Regions from separate parts of the Homo sapiens genome. Here all the other regions are linked to region 2. The links are contacts of gene promoters, found by promoter capture Hi-C in blood cells and fetal thymus (Javierre and others, 2016). All regions are on one chromosome and are shown on one strand. Each heading gives the region's core, a stretch centred on a gene start or on the middle of the fragment in contact. The rest is flanking DNA. Distances are from core to core; before and after follow the strand shown. Region 1 overlaps HAND1 (heart and neural crest derivatives expressed 1). Region 2 holds the start of FAXDC2 (fatty acid hydroxylase domain containing 2). Region 3 has its middle 38 kb from the start of HAND1.

Region 1 (4,115 bases), core at 508-3,007, 380 kb after region 2:
GAAAGAGAAATATATATATATCCACCCCCAGCCCAACCGAGGGCGGCCCTTGGCGGCAACATGCAAGAAGGAGGGACTGTCGAACCCAAGGGCTCAAAGACGCACTCTTCCACCCTTTTGGAGCGAATTTAGAACCTCAGCCCTATCTCCATTTCCCTATCTGGCTCTTTCTCTCTTGTCCCTCCATATGATCCGCCCCGACGCCGTCTTCTCTAATTAAAATGCAATAAGGAATCAATTCTTTTCTGCCTGAGAAAGAGAACCAGACGCAGGAAGATGAAAGGCTGCCCTTTGTTCTTCGAATCGTGGTGGTTTTATTTTATTTTTCTTTTTGTCGCTGCACTTCCTGTTTAGTTCCAAGGGAAACACTTTCTCTCTTTCTCTGTCTCTCTCTTTTCTTCCTTCTTTTCCTTCCTTTTTGTTTCTATCTAAATAAAAGCTTTCCCTGTGTTGGAAAGTTTTTATGTATTTAAACTACCTACCATGCCTGTTGTGCTCAGGTGTTTGTTCATCCTGCCATCCCCAACCCTTTTCTACCTCAAGTCTGTGTGACCACTCACAGCCCCCCTCCCTTCGCCAAAGCAGTGTCTATGCTCTTGATTAATAAAACATTTTCTGAAATCATCTGAAGCCTGTGTCATGTCTCAACCGGGGTCCCTCACCGACTCCCATGGCTTCTGCTAGGTGGAAAGCCTCTGTTCCTGCTCCTCTTCTTTTGATAAACACGAAACCAAACTTGAAATCAAGGGAAGCCGGCAGATAAAGAATGTATTTCAAGAACAAGAGCAAAGTTCTCTTTAGACTAGAACGGGAGGTGGGGGTAACTTATGGGAACGGGGAAGAACAAAAACGGAAACGAATTAGTCTCAGAGGGCCTGGGCTCGGGTTTTTGTGCGTTGAGTATTCGTGCTTGTCTGGAGGTTAGTATGCCCACTGGTGTCTGCAAAGAGTGGTTTGGAGTGTTTATTGGGAGGGAAGGGGGCCTAGCACACAGGTGAATCCTATCCCTGGGGCAGGGTAGCTCAGGAGAGGGGGTGTTGGTGGGGAATATGTTCATGTATGTGAAATTCTCAACATATAGATGTACATGTGACAGTGCAGCAACTCATACGGAGCCTGAGGCTGTGCAGGGGCCAACAAGGGTCTGCTTAGTACAGCTCCAAGCACACAGTAAGGACTTGACAAGTCACAGCAGCTATTATTATTTTATACCTGAGTAAAATAAGCTTGTGAGTGCTTATATGTTAAATTGAGGTATTTAGGTTTCTCTTTAGCAACGAAGCACTCGACAGAAGGTTGTGAGAGCATATGGATTTGTGCAAAGGGATGGGGTGTATGTGTGTATGCGTGCTCATTCGGGCACTTGTGCAGGAGAGCCAGTCTTTGTGTTCTCTCATGCGCACCCATGACTAGGTGTGGTGGGTATAAATTCGGTGCATTTGCCAAGGATCTTGGATGCGTATTGGGCTAAACTGGGGCGGGCAAACGCAGTGGTTTATACTTCCAGGAATAATAATGTACGAATACTTTGGTTGCGTGCAACTGTGTGCTAGGCACTGCGCTAAGCACTTCTGTGTCTCCCAACAGCTCCCATGGTTGCCCCACGGAGCGCACGCTCTGCAGCGCCTGAGGGTCTGCGGCGCTCACTGCGAAGGAGGAGGGGAGACCCGTGAGGCTGTCTTGGAACTTTCGCTCTGCGCACCTGGAGCCTGAGCGCTCGGCTTGGGAACAAGAAAGGAGACCTCAGGCAGCTCCGGGGCAGGGCCTCGTGGGGCACCAGGCGTGCCCCAGGCGCCTTGTCCCAGCGTCGGGGTGAATATGGGACCCCATTAGTCTTGGCTGTAAACACCGTAGCAGGGGCCGAGAGGCCACGCGGGCCTTTCCGGACGCGAAGGAGTTAATAAAAGGTGTTTTATGGGCGCTAGGAAACAGTGGGGGAGGTGTGAGCTTCTCTCTCTACTCTCGCCCCCCTACTTTTTTCTTTTTTCCCTCTCGCCACCCGCCGCCAGATCAAACAGGCCCGCGATTTAACTAGGGCAACACTTGGCGGTAATGAGCCTGTCCGACGCACCCCTTCCTCGGCCTCAGTACCCGGCCCGAGGCCCCAGGGCCCTTGGGGAGGAGCAGAGAGAAAAATCAAAGTTTCTTTCTTGTTGTTTTGTTTTTCTTTTCTTTACCTTCTTTCTTTCCGTTTCTTTCTGGGAGTCCGTTTAGAAATTCCGGCGCGCATGGAGAAACAGACTCAGGGAGGGAGGTGATCTAAGCCCCACAGCACGGAGGGAAGCTTATCTAGATTCGAACCCAGGACTCCAACTTCGCTCACACACAAACCTCTGGCTATACACAGGTCCCAGCTCCCAGGACTATTTTTAGCACCGTGAAGTATCCTAGGCACGGGAAGAATGCGCACCCTGGTCTAGCTTTCTTATAGCCGGGGAAAGAAGAGGGGGTGCTGAGGGAGACCCGCCAGCGGCCGCCAAAGCCAAGTCTGGCATAACCAGGCCTCTTCAGAAAACCCAATCCTGCTGGCCCCAAACCCTCTTTGGGAAGAGAGCCTTGGAGCCCTAAACTCGGTCTCAGAAACGTGCAGTCCCTGAACCCGGGAGCCGAGACGGAGCCGGCGCCCATTGAGAGGGTCACTGGATAGTCCCCCACTCTCCCCACGCCTGACTCCAGCGGCCTCCCACGCCCACGCCACATCCCCAGCTCCCACCGCACAGCTGGAAAAGCCGAGCACAGAGAACGGCTCGGAGCTGCCCCAGGTTTCACAAACCATTCTGTGCTGAGGGTCTGCAGACTAGGGGTCCAGCCCTTCTCGCTGCCACCCTGGCTCTCCAGGCTCCCACCCCTCCTTAGCCCTCCCTTCTTTGAAAACATCTTTAGAGTCTAACGTTTAGTTTCTTCTTCTCTGCCCAGGTTTCAACGAGGTTTGTCAGACACCTCAAATCAGCTGTGGCAGAAGCAGGGTCATTATTTATTATTTTTGAATTAAATACATCTTTTTTAAAAAATGGGAAAAATGGAATGGTTACCAACTTAAAAGTAAATTCCAGGAGTTTACTGCAAGGAAATATTGATGTTACAAAACGTTAACTATAGGACTATTCTATTAAAGAGTGAAACACGAGAAAGAACCTGATGTCCTATAATTACAGAACTGGCTCAATAAAGCCATCAGTACAAGTGGGTTACTATTCAGCCATTAGAAAAAATGTGGGAATTGACATGGAAATTGTTCACGATATATTAAGTGAGAAAACCTCCTCCCATATTACACCAAACACTGTCCATTGTGACCCTTTTCATGTAAAAATAAAAAAATATTATTCGTGGAGAAAAATTGGAAGAATATACATCAAAACTTTCACACCTTTACCTCTGACTTGTGGGAATAAGGGTAATTTTGACTTTTCCTCTTGCTTAGCCATATTTTTCTTAAATGTCTTATAATGAATAAGTATTACTTTTGCAATAAAAATTAAGCTGCAATTTCCTCTGTTGCCAGCATACTTTCAATACACCATTTATTTAACATACATTTATTGTGTGCCCACCATGTGCTAGGCACTGTGGGCATAAATATAATGAAAAGATCCTAATAACGATCAATTAACATACAACAGAAAATATTTGTCCTGAAGAGTTTATTATTCCTCGTACACAGCAAATAGTCTTTTTTTCTTACATTTAAAGTCTATTGATGAATGGAATAGTAACAGCTAACATTTATAAAGAAAAGTATTTAAACTCAGCATGCATTATTTCATATAAGCCTCACAGGGTTCCGTGAGGTCAATATTGAGGGAGCTGAGGCGTAGAGAGGTGAAGGATTTTGTCCAAGGTCACATGGATGGCAGATAGGACTTGTATCAAAGTGCAAACATGGCTACCTCCAGAGACCTGTTTCCCCCACATCTCGGAGCACCTCCAGGTGTGTGTGTGTGTGTGTGTGTGTGTGTGTATACATACATATGTGCCCAAATACAGTTTCTCTCAGTCTGATCTTCCTTAGTCCCCAAAGTAAGGTAGAGAAAAAAAGAAGGAAGGAGTTACGTGAAAGGATCTGGGATTCAAATTCCAGCATTCTCCTGGAACCCTCTTCCCCTGTCAGGGCT
Region 2 (3,998 bases), core at 1,462-3,961:
ATTCTCCTGCCTCAGCCTCCTGAGTAGCTGGGACTACAGGCGCCCGCCACCACGCCTGGCTAATTTTTGTACTTTTAGTAGAGACGGGTTTCACCGTGTTAGCCAGGATGGTCTCGATCTCCTGACCTCGTGATCCACCCGCCTCGGCCTCTCAAAGTGCTAGGATTACAGGCGTGAGCCACTGCGCCCGGCCAAGAAATTTTTAAAAATAGGCCAGGTGCAGTGGTTCATGCCTGTAACCTCAGAACTCTCACCTGAGGTCAGAGTTTGAGACCAGCCTGGCCAACATGGTGAAACCCTGAGTCTTCTAAAAATACAAAAAAAAAAAAAAAAAAAAAAAATTAGCCAGGCGTGGTAGCAGGCGCCTGTTGTAGTCCAAGCCACTCTGGAGGCTGAGGCAGGAGAATCGCTTAGAGGCAGGAGAATCGCTTAAACCCAGGAGGCGGAGGTTGCAGTGAGCCGAGATTGTGCTACTACACTCTAGCCTGGGCAACAGAATGAGACTCCATCTCAAAAATAAAAATAAAAAAATTAAAAAATAGAAAGTAGGAGGGAATAGGAAATAATATCATCTGAGAGGAGCCAAACTAAAGTGAGTCTTGGAAGTCTGGTAGCACAGGTTTGTTCAGTGCACAAGATAGACTTGGTCAGCTGGAAAATATAGACATTCTGCAATATCTGGAATATTGAAAAAAATTAGTATCTCTGAAAGGAGAGATGAGGAAAAACATGAACAAGTTGTACAAAATGTAATTAATTTGTGAGCAAGCATTGAATGTTTACTGAGCCCTTGCTTTGTGCAACGAATTAGGCAAGGAAAATGAGGAAGACATGGTCCTTTATTGGCCAAATAAAGTATGACACATCTATACAATGGGACGGGAGGCAGCCATTAAACAGAACATGGCAGCTCTTAAGGGTACTATATGGAGCAGTCTCCATGTTTTGTTGTTGACAGTTTTATTTATTTTAGAGACAGGGCCTCATTATGTTGCCCAGGCTGGTCTCTAACTCCTGGGCTTAAGAAATTCTCCTGCCAGGCCAGGCACGGTGGTGGCTCATGCCTGTAATCCCAGCACTTTGGGAGGCTGAGGTGGGCAGATTATGAGGTCAGGAGTTTAAGACCAGCCTGGCCAATATGGTGAAACCTCATCTCTACTAAAAAAAAAAAATACAAAAATTAGCCGGGCCTGGCAGCGCACACCTGTAGTCCCAGCTACTCGGGAGGCTGAGGCAGAAGAATCGCTTGAACCCAGGAGGCGGAGGTTGCAGTTAGCTGTGATCATGCCATTGCACTCCAGCCTGGGTGACAGAGCAAGACTCCATCTCAAAAAATAAAAAAAAGAAATCCTCCTGCCTCAGCCTTCCAAAGATTGCTGAGATTACAGGCATGAGCCACTGCACCCGGCATTTTTTATTTTGTTTTGTTTTTTAGAGACAGGGTCCCACTCTGTCACTCAGGTTGGAGTGCAGGGCACAATCATAGCTCACTGCAGCCTCCAACTCCTGGGCTCAAGCCATCCTCCCACCTCAGCCTCCCCAGTAGCTGGGATAACAGACATGTGCCAGTAAGCTCTACTAATTTTTTGTATATGTAGTAGAAATGGGGTTTTGCTACATTGCCCAGGCTGGTCTTGAACTCCTGGCCTCAAGTGATCCTCCCGTCTTGGTCTTCCAAAGTGCTGAGATTATACATGTGAGCCGCCGTGCCCAGCCAAGTTTCTGAGTTTTGTTTATTTTAGAAAGGAGTCTTCCTGTGCTGCCCAGGCTGGTCTCAAATACCTGGGCTCAAGTGATCCTCCAACCTCAGCCTCCCAAATAGTTGGGACTACAGGTGAGCACCACCATGCCTAGCCAATCTCCATGTTTGATTGTTAAGTGGAAAAAGCAAGGTGCACAACAAACATACTATGGTGCTGTTGCTAAAGGAGAAGCACAAGGCCTACACATGTTTCTATTTACAGAGGTAAGCTCTGGAAGGATATACAAAAATCTGGTCACAGAGGTTGTCTCTTGGGAGGAAAAAAAGGGGACTGAGGAGAAATTAAAAAAAGACTTTTCATTGTACATTCTTTTGACCCTATTGTATTTTATATCATTTGCACATTTGCTTATTTAAAAAGTTTTCAGAAATTTAAAAGCAGCTCTTTTTCCAAAGTGCTCCTCACTTCATGTCATGGGTCCTGTATCCTAAGTTCCCCTATTTCAATCACAGTGCAAATTTACCCTCCACAGGCATGCCTTTCCTGCATCTAGACTCACTAGAAATAGCTGATGCATCTCTCCTCCCTTGCCTGCCCTCCACAGGAAAAGAAGCAATGAAAAAAAAGAAAATGAGATCCTCTGGTCTCTGTCACCTTTTTATCAACTTGTACTACCTGCCATTATCTGACACCCACATCTTTTCTTGAATCTGCCTCCTCCTATGGGACAGCGACATTTTCTTAAGTTGCAGATGATGGAGAAAATTTTTTAAAAGAAAAAAAGGGGGCAGGGGGAGGGAAGCCCAGAGTTTGGCCAAATGCACGTTTTTCAAGTTCCTGCTTGAGCTTAGATTCCCTTTCCGCTTTAAGGACATGCCCTCTGGAAAGAAGGGTGTTTTGTTTCCAGCCCACACAGACCCAAACTTTTTTCATCACGTGCCTGGTCCGAGCCAGTACGCAGCTCTGTAATGAGATCACCATGGCCAGCCTCCCACCCGAGCAAAAACAAGGTTAGCCTGCAGCAGAGCCGCAGCAGCAACAGCCACCAAAGCGGGGGCTGAAAGGGAAGAGAACTTAGATTTGACCTGTGCAAGGACCTCAGCAGCTTGGACACAGCCCACTGCAGAGGTAAGTGGGAACTACGGGGGAGGGGTGGTGTTTGCAAAGGTCAGGACATGTCCAGGTTCACTTAAAGTAAGGGCAAAACAACACTCTTCCCACCTCTGCCACCACCCTGTCCTCTCTACTTATGGCAGGGTTAGATTTGCCTCTAAACAGGGTTAGATGGCAGGGTTAGAATTTGTCCTAGGACATTGCTGTAGTGCAGTCGCCTCCTTGTCTCTTACTAATGTCTGTATCCTCTGCCTGTGTTTGTACCATCTACCTCCTCAGTAGTCTAATTTTTCTAGCAATTGACAGGTGATTGTAATGGACAAGTAATTGTTTGACTTTAAAACCATTTGTAAAGGAGCAACTCCTAATTCAGAACTCAAATGAGAGGCAGAACAAACTGGAAGAGACTGTTGGGAAGCAACTGCTGCCTAATTGCTTCTCATCTCTACTCTGCCATCACCAGGAAGGTATGGGGCAAAATACAACAGTTTTAAAGTCTCTGGATAGATGTGTGGGCTATGAGCTAGACAAGTAGGTTGAAACTGTTTTGATGCAACATACTTGGATTTACCAACAGTGGCTCCAGTTGTGAAATCGTTAGTGGCTTGATAGTACCTATGGAAACACTCCACGAAGGTTATTGAGTAAAGGGCATACAGTAAAGTGTGTAGGTGGAGATGAACAATAGAACAGTGGCTTTCAGGACCTTCTGGGGCTTAAGGCAAGCAAGACAAGATGCTGATTTGTGGGTTGCTTCAGTTTCATGTGCAATTCCAATTAAATTTCTTTGAGTGGGATATACAGATTCAATTCAATTTGCTAAAACACAGATGCACTGAGCATCAGCTTCTAACTTTAGTTACGAAAGTAATTAGCACAAGGGAATGGTGCTAAAATGTTCCATAGCAAATGTTGAACACTTTTTGAGGGCAAAAAGCAATGCTTTTGATTCGTGTATCTCTTATTTATTCGGCAAATCTTTCTTGAGTATCTTCTACATGCCAGGCTTGGGCTTGATTCTGTGGATCTCGTGGTAAACAAGACAGGCAGATTCTCGGCCTCATGGACATGCAATCAAGCAGAACAGTAAGCTCAAAGGGTGCAAGTACCATGCAGCAAAAGGAGTGAAGAGAGTATTACTAAAACTGGCCCATGGGAATCATTTTTAACCTTTCCTTTCAT
Region 3 (3,893 bases), core at 648-3,147, 330 kb after region 2:
GGGCCACAATCTGTGCCAAGACCCTCACTAGAGCCTCAAAGACACACTGCCCCTGTTTTACAGATGAGAAAACAGAGGCTCAGAGATGTTAAGTCAGTTGCCCAAGGTCACACAGCACAGCCAGTTCGTCAACCCCAATACTGTAATTACTACGCCATATTCTCCTGCGAACAAAAACAACAGTAACTCACACTTATGAGCACTCATTACGTGCTATGCACTTCATGGAGGTTGACTCGTGTTGTTCTTCCCCTGTTTTTTTCATATGGGGAAACCAATGCACAGAGAGGGAGGTCAAGTGATTGCTCAAAGTCACACTGAGATAAGCGGGGAAAGTGGGACTTGAGCCCCAGCAGGGTGAGCCCAGAGCCCCACGTGCTTCACGCCCTGCCCGACTCTGCCTGCTGCTTCCCTGGCCTTCTGGAGCTAAGGACAGGCTCCTCCCTGTCACCCACTTTTATCTCTGCTTGAGAGGTGAAGAAACTAAGGCCCAAAGAATGGACATGACTGTGCCCCTGCCCCTGGCATCTATGGCAGGGTGGGGCCTGGAGCATGAGGTCTGCGAGTTCTCCTTCTTGGAGGCTAGGATGGGAGCTAAGGGGCCTAGGTTCTAGTCCCTGAAAGGCTGCTGTTTTGCTCTGTGACCTGCAACACAACACAGCTCCTCACTTAGCTTCAGTTTCTCCATTTGCTCAATGGGAATGACAATTGCGGCCCTTACCCACCTTACAGAGCCTGATGTGAAACGAAGTGAGGGAAGGATGGTGGGATGGGATGGTTTTCCTGGCCCGGATTCCTGTCCCATGAATGGAATGTCTAAGCAGCATCATTTTAGGGCTTAAAGCCCCAGGGGTAGGGCTGAGCGGGGCCTCCTCCATTGGGAGACCCCCCACCTTGGGCTCCAGCCCAAATTGCCAGACACAGGCCTGAGAGGCGGACTCCCCTCTAGGCAGGGGTGCCCAGGAGCCAGCCGGCTGGCCATTTGTCCACAGATGGGTGTGCAGATAACAGGCGTCTGGAGATAAGGCAGAGCCTGCTCCCGGCCTAGTGGAGAGCCAGGCTGAGCCACAGTGGGGAGGGAGACTGGGAACTGGGGACAGGGAGGTGTCTGCCAAGATGCCCTGAGGCCTGACGCAGAACTCTCTGCTACCCTGTAGCACAGAGCTGATGGCCTGCTGTCTTCTGGATCTTTCCCCAAAACAAAACAGAATAAAGCAAACAAATAAGCAAAAAATATACTTTTTTTTTGAGGCAGGCTTTCGCTCCGTCAACTGGGCTGGAGCGCAGTGGCACCATCATGGCTCACTGCAGTCTCAACCTTCCTGGCTCAAGCAACCCTCCTGCCGCAACTTCCTGACCAGCTAGGACTACAGGCATGGGTTACCACGCCTGGCTAATTCTTAAATTTTTTGTAGAGACAGGATTTTGCCATGTTGCCCAGGCTGGTCTCAAACTCCTGGGCTCAAGCGATCCTCCTGCCTCAGCCTCCCAAAGTGCTGGGACTACAGGCATGAACCACCACACCGGGCCAAAAAAAACATACCTTTATCAGAAGTGCTGCTTACACTGGAGAGAGCCCTGAGCTAGCACCAAGTGCCACTGACTTACTGGACAGGCTGTGTCAAGTCACTGCCTGACTCTGAGTCTCAGTGTCCTCATCTCTGCAGTGAGCACAGTGATCTGCTGCCACCTCCAGCCAGATACAAAGGAACGCACATAATAAATAACTAATCCCATGTGATGCCATGTGGTAAGTACTATAATCATCCCCACTCTGCAGATGAAGACATGGAGGTATGGAGGGATTAGGCCATACATCTAGTAAGTGGTGATACCAGCATTTAAATTTAGGCAACCTGGCCGGGTGCGGTGGCTCACGCCTGTAATCCCAGCACTTTGGGAGGCTGAGGCAGGAGGATCACCCGAAGTCAGGAGTTCGAGAACAGCTTGGCCAACATGGCGAAACCCCACCTCTACTAAAAATACAAAAATTAGCCAGGCATGGTGGTGGGTACCTGTAATGCCAGCTACATGGGAGGCTGAGGCAGGAGAATAACTTGAACCCAGGAGGCCGTGGTTGCAGTGAGCCAAGATTGCACCACTGCACTCCAGCCTGGGCGACAAGAGCGAAACACCATCTCAATAAATAAATAAATAAATAAATAAATAAATAAATTTAGGCAATATGATTCTAGCAGCAAGCTCCTAAGTGTTTGAAATGTCACTGCCAGTGTTATTAAAGGAATAAAGAGGGCCAGGTGTGGTGGCAGGCGCCTGTAGTCCCAGCTACTCTGGAGGCTGAGGTAGGAGGATCGCTTGAACCTGGGATGCGGAGGTTTCAGGGAGCCGAGATTGTGCCATTGCACTCCAGGCCTGGGTGAGAGAATGAGACTCTGTCTCAAAAATAAAATAAAAAAAATTTAAAAAGGAATAAAGAAAACTGCAGTTGGAGCCTATTTGGGTTTTTAAAATATACACACTTGTGGCTGGGATTGGTGGCTAACGCCTGTAATCCCAGCACTTCGGGAGGCCAAGGTAGGCAGATCACATGAGGTCAGGAGTTCGAGACCAACCTGGCCAACATTGTGAAACCCCTGGCAGGTATCCGTTAGATGACAGTAGTAGCACACTCTCCAACCCCAGCTGTGACAACCAGAAATGTCTCCAGACATTGCCAAATGTTCTCTGAGGGGAACCCCTGCTCTCCCTGAAACCCTGTTTAGAAATCACTAACCTAGAGGCTGTGACTAAGAGGGGTATTCACTTTCTTTTTTTTTTTCTTTTCTTTTTTTTTTCTGTGACAGAGTCTTGCTCTGTCACCCAGGCTAGAGTGCAGTGGCGTAATCTTGGCTCACCGCAACCTCTGCCTCCCAGGTTCAAGCAATTCTCTGCCTCAGCCTCCTGAGTAGCTGGGATTACAGGTGCCCACCGCCACGCCCGGCTAATTGTTGTGTTTTTAGTAGAGACGGGGTTTCACCATCTTGGCCAGGCTGGTCTCGAACTCACAACCTCGTGATCCACCCGCCTGGGCCTTCCAGAGTGCTGGGATTACAGGCATGAGCCACTGCACCCAGCCGAGAGGTGTTCACTTTCTAACCCCTACGCTGAAAATTTTGCCACATGCAAGCACGTTACATTGAAATAAAAGAAAAGAATACATACAAAAAAAAAAAAAGAAAAATTATTGGATGGTGGAAGGATGGGTGGCTGGATAAATGAATATCAGTTGAAGTAGCCAGATGGAAATCAAAGCCAGGGCATTCTGGGAGAATATTTTGAGCCACTTTCTGGGAGAACACTGTGAGCCAATTTCTGCATTTTACAGAAGAGGAAAGGGGGACTCACAGAGGGAGGGGCTTATCTGCACTCCCAGAACCAACTGGTGCAGAGTGAGATGAAGGTCTGGATACATTGGCTCCAGACCAGTGCTCTGAACCCAGGAAGGTGAAAAGGCAAATGAGAGAACAACTTCGCTGACAAAACTCTTGCTTTTGCAGTTGGAGGCTCCAGGGACTTGGCAGAGCTGCCACCCAGCGTGTTGCCTTTAGATGATGCCTGGAATGTTCAGGAGGCAAGGGACTTCACTGGTAACTTGGCCCCATGGAGCCCTCGGTGTAGAGAGGGATGTGCATATACATGGCAGTTTGTGCTGAGGGCCAAGCAACGGGGAAGGGTCTTTTATGGCTCAGTGTGGTGGCAGCATGATGTTGCAGGCTGGGAAGGCTGACAGAGACTAACCCAGATTGGGATAGCCCTGGAGCACCAGGTGGAGGAGAGAGAGGAGACCTAGGGTTGTTGAGAGTAGGATGGCTCAAAGGGAGAGCTGTGGCCATGGTTGTGAGAGGAGGGACTCTTCTAGAGATGACTGTGGTGAGGGTGACAGTTCTCCATTG

Evidence for each region. Contacts are between HindIII fragments. The CHiCAGO score rates a contact against its expected background, and 5 or more counts as called.
Region 1: a contact is called between a fragment that was not itself captured here and the fragment with the promoter of FAXDC2 in region 2, in 5 of 17 cell types (activated CD4 T cells, naive CD8 T cells, total B cells and 2 more). The highest score is 8.2, in activated CD4 T cells.
Region 3: a contact is called between a fragment that was not itself captured here and the fragment with the promoter of FAXDC2 in region 2, in 1 of 17 cell types (monocytes). The highest score is 6.0, in monocytes.

What each region holds. Positions count from the first base shown.
Region 1 is chr5:154,471,481-154,475,595 of GRCh38, reverse strand. It overlaps HAND1 (heart and neural crest derivatives expressed 1), which reads left to right. Exons shown (of 2, transcript NM_004821.3): 2 at 1-624. Among named protein-coding and RNA genes, the nearest start is that of HAND1, 4.7 kb to the left of the region's middle. RefSeq lists enhancers at 1,220-2,191, 2,192-3,163. The HindIII fragment of the contact is 1,058 bases long and covers 1,229-2,286 here.
Region 2 is chr5:154,849,316-154,853,313 of GRCh38, reverse strand. FAXDC2 (fatty acid hydroxylase domain containing 2) reads left to right here and starts at 2,711. Exons shown (of 9, transcript NM_032385.5): 1 at 2,711-2,831. The HindIII fragment of the contact is 21,500 bases long and covers 1-3,998 here.
Region 3 is chr5:154,514,467-154,518,359 of GRCh38, reverse strand. No RefSeq gene overlaps it. Among named protein-coding and RNA genes, the nearest start is that of HAND1, 38 kb to the right of the region's middle. The HindIII fragment of the contact is 7,100 bases long and covers 1-3,893 here.